5 separate regions of the Homo sapiens genome follow, and regions 1, 3, 4 and 5 are each linked to region 2. The links are contacts of gene promoters, found by promoter capture Hi-C in blood cells and fetal thymus (Javierre and others, 2016). All regions are on one chromosome and are shown on one strand. Each heading gives the region's core, a stretch centred on a gene start or on the middle of the fragment in contact. The rest is flanking DNA. Distances are from core to core; before and after follow the strand shown.

Region 1 (2,700 bases), core at 148-2,647, 330 kb before region 2:
GGGCACGCGCTGTGATCCGCCGCTCCCTGGTAGGTGGTGCGCCCGCCGAGAGCTCAGGGCTTGCCGGAGAAGACGCCTCATGCTCCCGGCAGGGCACCTGGGCAGGTGGGCCCGCTGCGCCCCAGCGACTGCACCCCGCCCAAACCGCGGCGGCCAGAACTCCTCTCCGAGGGACGCCGGTGCGGCATGTCCGCACGAGCCCTGTCGCCGGGCGGATGGACGGGGTGGAGGGCAGGGCGAGGCGGGTGGGGGAAGGAAGTTGCCCAGGTGCGGGTGGCGGAAGAGGCGGCGCACTCACCCTGAAGTAGGTAACGTGGGTGGTGGGGTCTCCGGTCGGAGCAATTCCTCCCCCGTCCTTCGAGGGGAAGGCGTCTGTCCAAACACGTCCAAGCTGTCCCCAGGCCCAGCAGGGGCGGGGCCGGGTGGAGGGGAAGGGTAGCCGGTGGCCAGAGTGGTGAAGCCCATGGCGGGCCGGTAGCTGGGACTCCCACTGCGGCTGCTCTGGGAGGGGGAGCCTGTGGACGGCGTAGACTTTCGAGAAAAGCTGACTGCAGCCGGCGGCTGCAGGGTGATCTCTGACATCTCTGCCTGCTGCAGGAGGCCCGGGCGAGGCCGGGCACGGGCGGCGAGCTCAGGGGAGCCGGTGCGGGAGCTGAGGGGGCTTTGGGTCAGAGGTGAGAGCCGGGAGGGCTGTAGCACCACTTGATGTAAACTGGGCTCGGCGCGCCTGGCCTGCCGAGGGCTAGGCCGGGGCCGGGGCTGGGGCTCATACCACCGGGTGTCCAGGCCAAATGTGCTGGGGCCGCCGTGCGCCCCCGGCTCAGCCGGCTCGGGGTAAGGCAGCACAGGTATGCCCATGCCTTGGCTTGTATGTCGCAGCTGCCCTTGGCTTACCAGAGGTTGCATAGGTCTGTCCTGCCACTTGGCGGCGGGGGGCGCTGGGACAGGGCCCCTGCCGGGCGACTTGCCTGCCCAACCCTTCGGTGCCTCCAGAGACAGGATGCCCGGGTAGGCCGCGGGCACCTGCAGGGAGGTGGGGGGCAGTCCTCGGGGGAGGCCGGCCTTGGGCTGCAGACTCTCGGGCACATCACAGGGTGGCAGCTGGTGGGGGAACATCATCGCTGGGGTCTCCAGCCCCCCGAAGGGGAATTCTGGCCGGCCCCAGGGCTCAGGGGAGCGCCCTCCTGTAGGTGTCTGAGTCAAGGGCAGCGTGCTGTTGGATGCATTCTCTCCATTCTCCTCGGGGATGGTGGGGTGGCCAAAGGGCCCCTCGGTGGGCAGGGGCGGGGACGACATGACGGAGCTCAGGGGGCTGCCCACTTCTGGCACGTAGAACGGGGGCGGCTCCACCTCCCCAGGGCTGCTGCTGCTGAGGTACCCATAATACTGGCCATGGTGGAAGGGCCGGGGGGCAGGGGGCCGGGCCTGGCCTGTGGCCTGAAGCCGACCTTCCAGGCCACCGGGGCCCTCCAGCCCGCGGGGCTGGAACCGAGGGCTGTATGCTGGTGGTGGCAGGTAGGACTCCTGGCTGGATGACAGAGGGGTGAGCTGGGACTTCAGGGCGGCCACAGATGTGGGCACCAGTGGGTCCTCGTTCTCCTCGTCCGACTGGCGGAACTCGGGGTACATGTCCGTCTCCTCGGCGAAGGGGAAGCCCTCGATGCGCCTGCTCTTCAGCGAGGGCTCCATCTCGGCAGGGTCCATCACGAAGCGGCCGTCAGGGCCTCTGCTGATGAGCTCGATGGGCGTGGTGGCCTCTGCCTCGGCCTCTGCCTTGGCCACGCTGTACTTCTTGCTGCTGATGGCCCGCTTGGTCTTCTTGTACAGCGACAGCTCCTTCTCACGGGTGGGGCTCAGCATCCTCTTGGCCGCGGGCTGGCCCTGGTCGTCGGAGGATTCTGACGGCGCTCGGAGCGTGCGGATGCTCTCGGGGCTCACCTTGCCAGAGGACAAGCTGCAAGGAGGAGCAAGAGCCGGGAGGGGATGAGGTGGGGCAGTGTGCTGGCCAGGACTTCCTTTCCCTCTCTCGGCAACCACCCAGCACCCAGGATCCTCACGCTCAAGAAAACTGGCTGTGTATCGTGGTGTGAAATGCTTTGGCCAACTCTCCACCGTCTGGACGTGAATCCTCCTTTTTTTTTTAAAGACGGGGTCTTGCTATGTTGCCCAGACTGGTCTTGAACTCCTGGCCTCAAGCAATCCTCCTGCCTCAGCCTCCCAAAGTGCCAGGATTACAGGTGTGAGCCGCCGCGCCCGGCCCCCCCCATCATCCGTCTTTCCAGTGAACACCCGCCTCTTCACTTTTGTGCTGGCCTGCCCCCTCTCTGCTGTGCTCTAAGCACACCTCCAGCTTCATTCCCCTCTTTTCAAGACAAGCAAGCTCACTTTAATATCAACTTAAGCAACACATATTAAGGAGGCAAATCTGCTAGGGTGGGAAAACACTAAAGAAATACATTCCAAGGCTGAAGAGAAACTGATTACTGGCTAATTTGGATCATCTGCACTGCCACTCCCTCTACCAGCGTGGACAACTTACAATTAACACACAGGTCAATCAAGAAGAAATGGCTTAGAAACACTGAGATGGGGCTGGGCAAGTACAATTAACACACAGGTCAATCAAGAAGAAATGGCTTAGAAACACTAACATGGGGCTGGGTAAGGCGAGCGGTCTACCTATGCGCCCCCTGCCATGAA
Region 2 (2,700 bases), core at 35-2,534:
GATATGAGGTCAGCACCTGTCACTGAGGTCTATCTGAAGCTACTTAATGACTATACTGCCTCTGAATTTAGTCAAAGTCCCTACATCAATTGTCATTAAATACCATTTATGGCTGTCTAATGCTCTGAACCCAGCATACCTTCCTAACCTAGTTTCCTAATGGCCCCTTAGGAGTTAACAGGCCCACTGCAAACACCACATATTGATAAATAACTGCAATGTGCTGTAGTATATCTGGAACCCCTGTCATTCCCAAAAGAGGTACTTTCTGTACCTTCCAATGTTCCTCCTCCTCCATCCACTTAGAATGCCATCCATCTTTGTGATTATAAAAACGACATCACGTTTTCTTAGTACTAAACTTTGCCCGTGGAAAGTCTCCCATTCTTCAAGGCTGGGCTCAAATTCCACATCCTTCTCGAGGCCTTCCCCGTGATTCCTCCCTCCATAAACTTAACAATCCATTTTCCTGAACCCCATCACATCTGTTTGCAGTTCACCCGCAAGCAGGCGCTTTATATTCTTTAGCACGCCACCTGGTATCTCAAAGAGTCTTTGTGCACAACAACCATTGCCTGAATAAACAAGAAAAAGGAACTGTAGGTAGGAGCTTGGTGAGACAAGTAAAGAAGATGGAGAGTGATTAAGGATAATGGAGTAAAAATATCACAAAGGGTTCTCAAAAAGCAGGGAGTGAAAAATGAGTACTAAACAGGCTCTTCGAGAAAAGTTTTTTCTTGGGCTGCCTTTGTGCAGCCTAGGGGCAGCTCACCTGAACCAGAAGTCCCAGCCAGCCTCTTCCGGGGTCTCGACATGGTCACGCTGCAGGGGACTTTAGTGCGGACGATTCTGGAATCAACGGAGATACAAGAAAGAATGCTAATGTCCTCCAAAACCCGCGCAGAGCGAGATGGAGGCAACGAGAGGCAGCCTAGAACGTCTCCAACTTTTGCGAAACACAGACGCCTACGTTTGAGCCCTCAAATCCTTCCCTCCGTTATCTGCGCCATTTCCATCTCGCATAACCTGCCCCTAAACTCTTCTCGGTTCTGTCCTTGGTCCTTCTCATCCAGGAACCCCTATCTCAGTATGTAGTTCACTGGGAAGTGGCTCCACAGAGACACTTTTGTTGGGTGAATATAAGTAAGCCTTGTGTTACCTTGTTATCCTTGCTAATTAGGATCAACTGAATGGATAATCTAGATGATGAAGTAATTTGCTGGCTACAGACCCAACACTCTGCAGACTCGACTGCGGTCCGCCTCCGCTGCGCCGCAGGCTGTGCAGCGCGACCCCCGCGGCGCTTGGTGGGCGGTGCATCTCTGCGGCGCCGAGGCCCCGAGGACTTCTGGGAATTGTAGTCCTGTCCCCTTGGGAGCCCGCCTGGCACCTGGGTTGTTAGGGCTCGTGGGAGGACTACAACCCCCAGGGTGCAGTGGGACAGGCGTTGCCGGGTCGCAGGTCCCGCCAGTGCGAGCGCAACGGAGGTCGAAGGCGTTCAGACTCTTAGCTGAACGCGGAGCTGCGGCGGCTATGCTGTGGAGCGGCTGCCGGCGTTTCGGGGCGCGCCTCGGCTGCCTGCCCGGCGGTCTCCGGGTCCTCGTCCAGACCGGCCACCGGAGCTTGACCTCCTGCATCGACCGTAAGGATCTCCTGGCGGGCAGTAGGACAGGTGTCCAGAACCCCGGCGGACATATGTCCGCGAGGGGCTGCAGTCTCCCCGTTCCATCCAGTCACCCCGGCGTCAGCTCCCCTTCCGGCCAGTCACCCCCCCGGCCTGGCTCCCTACTCCGGCCGGTCACCCCCGGCCTGGCTGCCCCCTCCGGTCGGTCACCACCATCCGGGTCCCCATCTGGCCCGTCACCCCTGCCCGGGTCCTCCTCCGGCCGGTCACCCCCGCCCCGGTCCTCCTCCGGCCGGTCACCCCCGCCCCGGTCCTCCTCCGGCCGGTCACCCCCCGCAGGTTCCCCTCCGGCCGGTCATCCCCCCGCAGGTTCCCCTCCGGCCCGGGTCCTCCTGCGGCCGGTCACCCTCGGATGCTTAGAGAAGTGAAGAAACTTGGGGCTTGGTTGTTGTTGGGTTGGTTGGTTTTTAATCATAACAGTAGGTCATAAAAGCAGTGAGAATATAAGAAGCTGGCTGGGTGCTGATGGTGACAACTGCACAAGAACTCCAGGTCATACAAGATTTGCTCACACACAAAGATTTGGTATCTTAACACCTCTGGCTATAAGACACTTTTAGTGTTGAAACTCATGCAGGAAAAATAATTATTATTGCCAGTGGGAAACTCTACCAGAGCTGACAAACTTGAGTGTCTTTAGGCTCTGAACAGTAATTTGAATGTAGCGAGGAGTGGTGGAGACCCGGCCAGTTTGTGACTTCTCTGCCAAGAATGTTTATAAACACTTTTTTCTTCTGAAATATTTTTAAATTTATTTTAAATAAATGGCAGTTTTCTTTACAACAGAATAAGTCCCTTAGATATCAGATCTATAAAGTACAGTAAGGCATAGAATACTGTTTTCTTCTGAATGTCCTAAAACTCATTCAAGAGGTGCTGCCCTGGCCTAGCGCTTAGAATTTGATAACCCAGATTACCCTGGTTGATACCGAAGCAGATAAGGAATTATTTAGAGGTGGGTTTTGTTATTGTTTGCATCTTGCTTACACTTGAGTGGCTCTGCAGTCAAAGGCTTT
Region 3 (2,700 bases), core at 81-2,580, 280 kb before region 2:
TGGCCTCCACCCCAACACTCCCTGTGGGCTTTTCTCGGAGCTTGTCCTGAGCCCAGGAAAGGAAAGGAGGCTGTGCTGGGCATCAAGCACTCACATGAAGAGTCCCGGAACCTGCTGAATGAGGCTTTGCTCCGCCCACGCTGCCCCCATCTGCCCACAGGCCTGCAGCCCCTACCAAGAGCAGTGGGCCCAGCCCTCTGCATCGGCTCCTCTCCCTCTAATTACTCTTCACACACTCTGGTGCCAGGCCCTCCAACCAAATTACAATTGATTCTTCACTCCTCTTGGATCAATGCCATCGACCCTGGAGCATGGAGGACAAACCCAAACTCACCCTCTAGGAACCAATGGCCCAAGGCAAAGCCCGGCAAGAGACCTGCACGTGCAAACTTGGAATGTGCATGCACACATGTATGCACATGCACACACACACATGCATTCATCCCCTTGCCCAAGAAGCATATGGATCAGCATGCACACACAATGCACCGGGCCACATATGGGTATCCACATGTAGACACATACATAGCTTGATATAGACAGACACTTTCATGCATGTCTACATGCACGTACACAAAAAGCACACAGGCCCACTCATATGCAGGGGTACAGACGCATGCCATTGGCTAGAGAAGAGGACACTCTGAGGCTCACAGGAAGCATGCTCTGGCCAAGTGAGGAGCTGGATTCTAGCCCATCCCAGCCCCCTCCCCGGCTGCTCTCCTAGCTCCACGTGTGAGCACACCCACCATCAGTTACGGTGGGAGGGGCCCGGCATCCTGCGACACACACCTCCGAGCCAAAACTCCTCTGCCGTTGTGGAGGCCTGTGGCGTGCCCTCCCCTGCAATGGACCCTGCCCCATCATCCCTTTGGGGTGTTGGAGAAATGCCCAGCCACTTCTCCACCAGACAAAGCCCGTTATAACTCAGCTGGGCTCTCTCTACACCTCAGTCCTCAGAGGAGCTTGGAGTGCATCTGCACCTGAGGCCCCAAACCATTGGAAAGGAGGTGCCAATCCCTACAGATGCCAACACAGAATGACAGCCACCAGCTCACTCCCCTCCCACACAGAATGGGAACATGAATGGCAAGTATAGAGGAGAAAGAAGACAGAGCAGGACCAGCCATCCAATACAGCCCGAGCAGACACCCAAGGCCTCAGACTCCACTGCTCCTTTCCTTATGGTCAAATTCTCTACTCCCCGCCAATGGCCAATGGCTTCCTGCCAGGCACATCTCCAGGTTAAGTCACAGAAACACAGAATATCAGGAGAAAAGCTCTGGGAGATCCTCGAGTCCCTCCAGCCCACATTCTCTCGGTGCCCAACTCTCCTTAATGACATTCCCAGCAAGGGACTGTCCCTCACACCGAACATACCATGCCCAAGGACACCGGAGGAGCAGAGGCCTCATCACAGAGCCGGTTCTCTGCCGAACAGCTCTAGAATTCTCTCTAAAGAGAGTAAAATCTCCCTCCCCAGAATGTTCACCGGTTGGCATGAAGTGGAAGGAAAGCCATTTCAATAATAAACGGTTGGTCTGCAGCTTGTCTGAAGGAAGAGCCACTGTTTGGCATTTCTGCTCACAGTTCTCAGTGCGAGGCTCTGCAGCGCCTGAGGGTGAGACCTGGGGGTTATCTGACCCTTGGAAGAGGGTGAAGGGCACCGTGGCCTTCCCTGTGCAAAAGGAAGATCTTGAAAAAGTCAGATGTCTGTCAATCTATGGAAGAAGCCTTATTTGAGTTTTGTCTCTAATTTTGTCTACTAATTTCCCTTTACTATACTAATATATTACTAATATTCCTAGTGAGTTCTTGGCCTCCGCCTCCCCCCAGATAAGCTGCATTTGCAGGCTTACAGCAGCTGAAGATAGATGTGTATGATCTGGGGAGGACGTCTTCAGTGCTGTGCCCCATCAACACCTCAGGACTTGGCCCCAGCACTGGAATCAGAAGCCTGGCACATAAAGCCGAAGTCTCTGTCCTCATGGTCTCCATGTCCGTGGTCTGAACCTTCTCTGTGTAACCTATTTCCTGTCCTCGATCATACAGAGCTTTTCCAACCATCCCGGAGGGCTTAAGGACCAGCAACTCTGCCCCCACTCCGCTCGGGCCCCCATACCCCGCCAGTAAGAGCTGCGTGGACTGAGAGGGATTTGCCATTCGGTGATCTCTTGCAGGCCAGAGTAGTGGAGAGAAGCCTGTGGAAGACCCCTGTGGCTGGCTCGCTCATCCACCATTTCACTCCCAGCATTCCACCATCGACACCACAAGGTTGGAAAGCATTTCCCAAAACACCTTGCACTATGTTTCTGGGTGTGGATTAGATGCCACCCATCGCGCGCACTTGCACAAGATTTGGCAGACAAACGGGAGGGGGTGTTCTTCCTGCAGCCCTAGCTGTTGGTGGCTATCATGGTCATCACAGGCTTGCAGGAGTCTCCAGTGTTCATGCTTCATTTTCCAAGATTCGAAATGTTAGCCTGCACAGCCTCTCCATCTGACTGCCTGCTCCCTGAATTCCACTGTCTCTTCTCCCATCTGCAGGTCTCTAGAGGCTTCTCTGGGGCCAGTGGCAGCTCTGACGTCCAAGAGCATACCCTCGATGGTGCCTCTGAGCCATGGCTTCAGTAATTCTGTGTTGTTCTGGGAGTCGCTGTAGTAGCCTCAATCCTGAATCTGCTTCTTCTGCCCTTCCGA
Region 4 (2,700 bases), core at 133-2,632, 350 kb before region 2:
CACACACACCAGACATGCACACCACACACAGACATGCACACCACACACATATACCACACACACCACATACACACACACACCCCACACACACACACACACACCCCACTTACTTCCTGAATCCAGAAAAGAAACACTGGACTAGACAGCTGGCTGGGGGTTAGAGACCAGGGGGACAACCTGGTGCCTGCAGAAGGACACATGAGACAATCCCTTCTCCAGCCCTGCCAGGACACCGTCGGCCATGGCACACCTCTCGTTGTTCATGGGAGGCCATATAAAACCTCATTGATAGAGTGGCTGACAACTACCCTTTCAAGAACTGCAAGATGACCGTGAGGAGGCTCATCCCTCCACCAGAAATACAGCTTCATAGACCACTATGCCAAAAGGAGGCCAAAGCCCTGGGTTCTACCACCAGCGTGAGGAGGGCTGGGCACTCGCCCCTCCCATGGCTTATATGAAAACCCCACACGTGCATGCCCGCAGCATTTCTAAGGCCGAAAATGCAAGTCACCTCCCCAGCCCAACCCCCTGCCCTCCGAGATTCCCTGCCCCTCCCACCACCTCCCCATCGTAAACCACGCACATGTTCACGATCCCTGGAGCCATACAGAAGTGGGGAAAGGAAAAGGGAAGGGAAGCTAACTGGTGTGTATACGGGGTGGCGAGGGAGAACCTGCCCTAGTTCGCAAAATAAATCCAGGAAATCCAGTGCCACAGAGAGGTAGGATTGGTGGAGCACACTTCTTCAAGACCCGAAAGAAAGGCAGGCCCAGGCAGCCATTCACGTCCCCATCTAGTGTGATGGGAATGGTGACAACCAAGGACCAGTGACAGGAGCTGAGCATTTGAGCCACGGGGTTAAAACTGTCCAATCTAGCTCTCCCAGCCAGGGCTCCAAAGCCGGTAGCTTTTCACCAGCTCTCGTCCGAAACCCTAACTACTACTACTGTCTTCTACACCGCAGAAGACAACACCCATGTGATTTTAATGACTGGCCACTGTTCCACCAGAGTATATGGCAACCAAGATACCCAGACTCTTCCTTCTCTAAGATGTGAGCAGCCATTAATGACCCCTGTATGGATGCTTCATTTATCCTTATCCTACATGGGATCCCTCAGGGGATGGTGGTGTCTTTGGACCAAATTCAATCTACTGAGTGTTTTTCTAACAGCTTAAAATGAGGTTGAAAAAAACTTCCACCTTCTCGGCAACCCAACACACAGAACATCTGGTGGGGTTATTATACTTGCTCCTGAAAGAAGGTTTTGAGAGTACAGACAGGAACCCAGAAATAAGGCTCTGAACCAGTGTGGATTCACTCGCAGTCAGAGGGAAGGGTGGTGATTGGTACCCCTAGCCAAACAGCAAGCTGGTAAGAGTGCGAAAGTCCAATCTGGGCTTTGATCCTTGGTTTACTGACTTCTTCTAAAGAAGAGATTTTTCATTCTGCCTCTTAATCTAAAAAGAAGCAGAGCTGGAGACATTAAAGAGAGAAGAATGGCTGGTCAAGCCAAGAGTTTCAGGTGAAACTCTTTTGCCCTCCCACCTCCACCACAGACTAGTGACTTTAGCCTATCAAAAGAAGAGAAAGTAAAGAGAAGGCCTCACGAAGCCACTGTGCAACTTCATGGCCGGAAGGAAGCCTCTCTACCTCAAGAGGAAAGGGGGATGAAGGCACGTCAGGCTCCAGCTCCCCCTCTCTATCACCATCACCATCACCAAGGCCCATGAACATTTTCAGATTGTGGACGGAGAGGCAACCCACCGCTGCAGCTTAGGAAAATGAGAATGGCACTTCCTTCTCCACTGATGAAGAGCTGGTGATAGGATGGGCATCTCAAGACAAGTTTCTCAGCTTTGGGCCTGAGGAGCCCCCAAAACAAATGAAGTTGAAATACAATATAAAGAAGATGTCCATGTTTGGTTTGGGCACTTAGTGTTAGAGGCTAATTCTAGAAGAAGCAAGGAAGATCTAGCTAAGAAGCAAGACCTCTCCCAAGATCCAGTCTGCGTTCACATGCAGGACCCCACCCCACAATCCGTCCCTGATGCCCAGATCCCCCTCCCACATGCCCTGCATGGCTACCACTCCCCAGCCAGATGCCCACCAGGCAATCATTCTTCGTCATCTTGGGATGATCCCCCAGTGTGTACCCTGCACCCTTACAAGTAACTAAGTTATCACATGACTCAAAGAGATGCTGAGGCTTGGTGTCCCCTGGGGTGGTCTCACCATCCTAACCCATGCCTGACCTCACCCTCTGTGCCCCTTCCAGCCTCACCAACACCTGGCAAAGCACACAGGCCTCCCCTCCACCCTCCAGTTCTCCAACTCCCCCTCCTGAAACACCAGTGCCCCATCCATTACCCTAGTCAATCTAGAGCTGGCCAATAAGGCACCTCTTTGGCCCTCTCCCTAAAGCAACACACACAGCCACATGGGGCTCTACACACTGCCTACTAGATCCACTTTATATGAAGAAGATACCCAGGCAGGGCTGGGTTAGAAGCCCCGGTGGGAATGTGCACAGCTCCTAGAGTACCACAGAGGCTGGACTCAACAGAGCCTTCCATGACCCGCTCAGCTCCACCCTCTGCCCCTTCCTGCAGCTCCCCAGCCATCCCTGCAGTGCCCCCAAAGCTCCTTTACATGCAAGCAAAGCAAGCCCAAGATTAACCATTAGCTTTTCTTTT
Region 5 (2,700 bases), core at 106-2,605, 260 kb before region 2:
TCAATGGGGTCGGGGGAGGGAGCCTATCAGGAAGAACAGCCAATGCATGCTGGGCTTCATCCCTGGGTGATTCGATGGTCTCTGCTGCAAACCTCCATGGCACACCTTTACCTGCGTAACAAACCTGCGCATCCTGCACGTGTACCCCTGAACTTAAAATAAAAATTAGAAATTTGAAAAAAGAAAGAAAAGAAAATGCATTCAGAAATGGCAGTGAGCTGGCCCGGCTGGCACGCAGGTAGACACCCACTTGCTGAGACTCGAGATATCTGCTCCTGCCTTTGATTCTGGCACTGTCTCCAGAGCTTTGTGTTAAAAATGTAAATGTTATTATTCATATGCAACCTGGGAGGAGTAAAACATTAGTATTTCCGCACTGCCATTTTATCACCCTAGTAGATCAAATACCTGAGGAGAAAAAGCCGGAATAGGGTATCTAGGAAGAAGGAGGGGAAGGAAGTCCTGGAGACAAAGATTTTTGTTTCACAATTTTGCCTGAGGCCACACCTTCGTGATGCTCTCTGGAAGGGAACACCCCAGGCAGGAAAGGATCACCAGGTGTCAATCCCAGCTGGTATCACAGTCTGCCTCAGCCTTGCCCTAGGTCATTAGGAGTCAGAAGAACCACTGTCACCCTCTCCCCCGTTTAGAGATGTTAATCTGATCACTAACCTGTCTCTGCAAAGTGTGAACATTTGTTTTTCTTAGATCAGTTGATACAAGGTTGAAATTATTCAAAGGGAATTCTTAAAATATGAGACAGAAATGCAAAAAAACAGAAAATGCAGACAACTGTTTTCTCCTAACACAGTGCATCTCTTTCTGCGGGTGCAAATGGCCCTGCTGGCTGCTGGAATTTCCATGTCCTCAGAATCTAAGACTTCTGTTCAATAAAATTGTATCAAATCCCAGGGACATGGATGAAACTGGAAACCATCATTCTGAGCAAACTATCGCAAGGACAGAAAACCAAACACCGCATGTTCTCACTCATAGGTGGGAATTGAACAATGAAAACACTTGGACACAAGAAGGGGAACCTCACACACCGGGGCCTGTCGTGGGGTTGGGGGAGTGGGGAGGGATAGCATTAGGAGATATACCTAATGTAAATGATGAGTTAATGGGTGCAGCACCCCAACATGGCACATGTATACATATGTAACAAACCTGAACCTTGTGCACATGTACCCTAAAACTTAAAGTATAATAATAATAAAATTTAAAAAAATTGTGTCAAATCCATAGGTGTTTCATTTTTTCTTCAAGTTAAGCAAGCTTTATTATGTTATAACTTATTTGCACAGAAGCGATAGACTACAATAATATAAACTGCAGTGTAGATTGTAGTCAAACTTTCTAGTATCATGTATTTTCATTTGATCTACACATTTCAATCAAGCATATCTAATATATTTGCTGAAACCACTTGGAAGCTTGGACCAGGGGCTCACGTGAACCTCAGACTGAAGTCGTAGCTTCAGTGTGGTGTTGCCACTGTGCCTTCCTGGGGTGGGGCTCCGGGAGTGTGGGGGCAGAGCCAAACTTCTGCCTGCAGCCCAGGCTGCTGGAGCCGTGGCCTGGGTGGCACCTCCCAGCTGAGGCGGGGGCTACTCTCTCTGGCCCCCAGGCATTGCAGAGACAATCACCATGAACCACGAGGACGCTTCCTTTGTCCTTCTGGAAGGGTCTGTGGCTCTCAGCCTCCTCTCGCCCCAGCCTTCTCTGTCATAGTCCTCGCTCTGTCACTAACCAGCTGTGACCAAGGGCTTTGGGATCCATACTTGGGACTGGTCTCTCTACTTCAGTGCTTTGCAGTTTGACTTTCTGCAGTGATGGAGACATTCAATATGGCAGCCACTAGCCAAGCAGAGGGGGCTTCTCAGCACTTACAACATGGCCAATGTGCCTGAGGAACTGAGGTTCGAATTCTATTTCATCGTCATTAATTTAAATGTAAAAGGCCAGACATGGTGGCTCATGCCTGTAATCCCAGCACTTTGAGAGGCTGAGGCGGGTGAATCACCTGAGGTCACGAGTTCAAGACCAGCCTGGCCAACATAGTGAAAGCCCATCTCTACTAAAAATACAAAAAGGGGTGGTGTCATGTGCCTGTAATCCCAGCTACTTGGGAGGCTGAGGCAGGAGAATTGCTTGAACCCACGAGGTGGAGATTGCAGCCAAGATCACGCCACTACGCTCCAACCTGGGCTACAGAGCAAGACTCCGTCTCAAAAAAAAAAAAATGTAAAGAAACAGATATGCTAGTGGCTACCATTCCAGACAGTGCAGCCCTGGCGAGTGGCCACATGGGCACCGCCGTCACCAGAGGCCCCTGGCGCCTGTCAGGAACCTACGCGCCAGCCCTCCAGGCTGCAGGGACATGCACCTTGGAGCTTACATTTAAAGACCTACCCAGTCTAAGAGATGCTTTCTTTTCATCATATCTGCGCAGCAGATTTATACCTTTAACCTTTAATTATAGCGTCAGCCTACGGAATGATCTGTTTCTCTCCAGGTTGGATAATGGGCTCTGCCACCACTAGGAGATCTTTACTTCTCCCTTGTGGGTGCCAGAGGGGGGTGCCACTGAGGAGAAATACCTGAGTGGAGAGGAGGAAACGCAGCCATACTGTGCAGCACCTAAATGCCAAGGAAAGGAGTTCAGGCGTGATGCCTTCAGCAGTGAAAAATCCTTGA

Evidence for each region. Contacts are between HindIII fragments. The CHiCAGO score rates a contact against its expected background, and 5 or more counts as called.
Region 1: a contact is called between a fragment that was not itself captured here and the fragment with the promoter of THYN1 in region 2, in 6 of 17 cell types (non-activated CD4 T cells, activated CD4 T cells, naive CD8 T cells and 3 more). The highest score is 11.0, in non-activated CD4 T cells.
Region 3: a fragment that was not itself captured here is called in contact with the fragment with the promoter of THYN1 in region 2 in 1 of 17 cell types (non-activated CD4 T cells); the score reaches 6.6 in non-activated CD4 T cells.
Region 4: a contact is called between a fragment that was not itself captured here and the fragment with the promoter of THYN1 in region 2, in 2 of 17 cell types (non-activated CD4 T cells and total CD4 T cells). The highest score is 7.4, in non-activated CD4 T cells.
Region 5: a fragment that was not itself captured here is called in contact with the fragment with the promoter of THYN1 in region 2 in 6 of 17 cell types (activated CD4 T cells, naive CD8 T cells, non-activated CD4 T cells and 3 more); the score reaches 8.3 in activated CD4 T cells.

What each region holds. Positions count from the first base shown.
Region 1 is chr11:133,919,444-133,922,143 of GRCh38, forward strand. IGSF9B (immunoglobulin superfamily member 9B) reads right to left here. Exons shown (of 20, transcript NM_001277285.4): 18 at 299-1,954. Among named protein-coding and RNA genes, the nearest start is that of MIR4697, 22 kb to the left of the region's middle. The HindIII fragment of the contact is 9,648 bases long and covers 1-2,700 here.
Region 2 is chr11:134,252,068-134,254,767 of GRCh38, forward strand. It overlaps THYN1 (thymocyte nuclear protein 1), which reads right to left and starts at 1,285. Exons shown (of 7, transcript NM_014174.3): 1 at 773-1,285. The coding sequence starts at 815. It overlaps ACAD8 (acyl-CoA dehydrogenase family member 8), which reads left to right and starts at 1,501. Exons shown (of 11, transcript NM_014384.3): 1 at 1,501-1,642. The coding sequence starts at 1,534. RefSeq lists an enhancer at 1,046-1,415. The HindIII fragment of the contact is 5,608 bases long and covers 1-2,700 here.
Region 3 is chr11:133,971,319-133,974,018 of GRCh38, forward strand. No RefSeq gene overlaps it. Among named protein-coding and RNA genes, the nearest start is that of IGSF9B, 16 kb to the left of the region's middle. The HindIII fragment of the contact is 9,581 bases long and covers 1-2,700 here.
Region 4 is chr11:133,902,487-133,905,186 of GRCh38, forward strand. It overlaps IGSF9B (immunoglobulin superfamily member 9B), which reads right to left. Exons shown (of 20, transcript NM_001277285.4): 20 at 1-2,700. Among named protein-coding and RNA genes, the nearest start is that of MIR4697, 5.3 kb to the left of the region's middle. The HindIII fragment of the contact is 7,551 bases long and covers 1-2,700 here.
Region 5 is chr11:133,991,796-133,994,495 of GRCh38, forward strand. No RefSeq gene overlaps it. Among named protein-coding and RNA genes, the nearest start is that of LINC02730, 15 kb to the right of the region's middle. RefSeq lists an enhancer at 1,840-2,340. The HindIII fragment of the contact is 158 bases long and covers 1,277-1,434 here.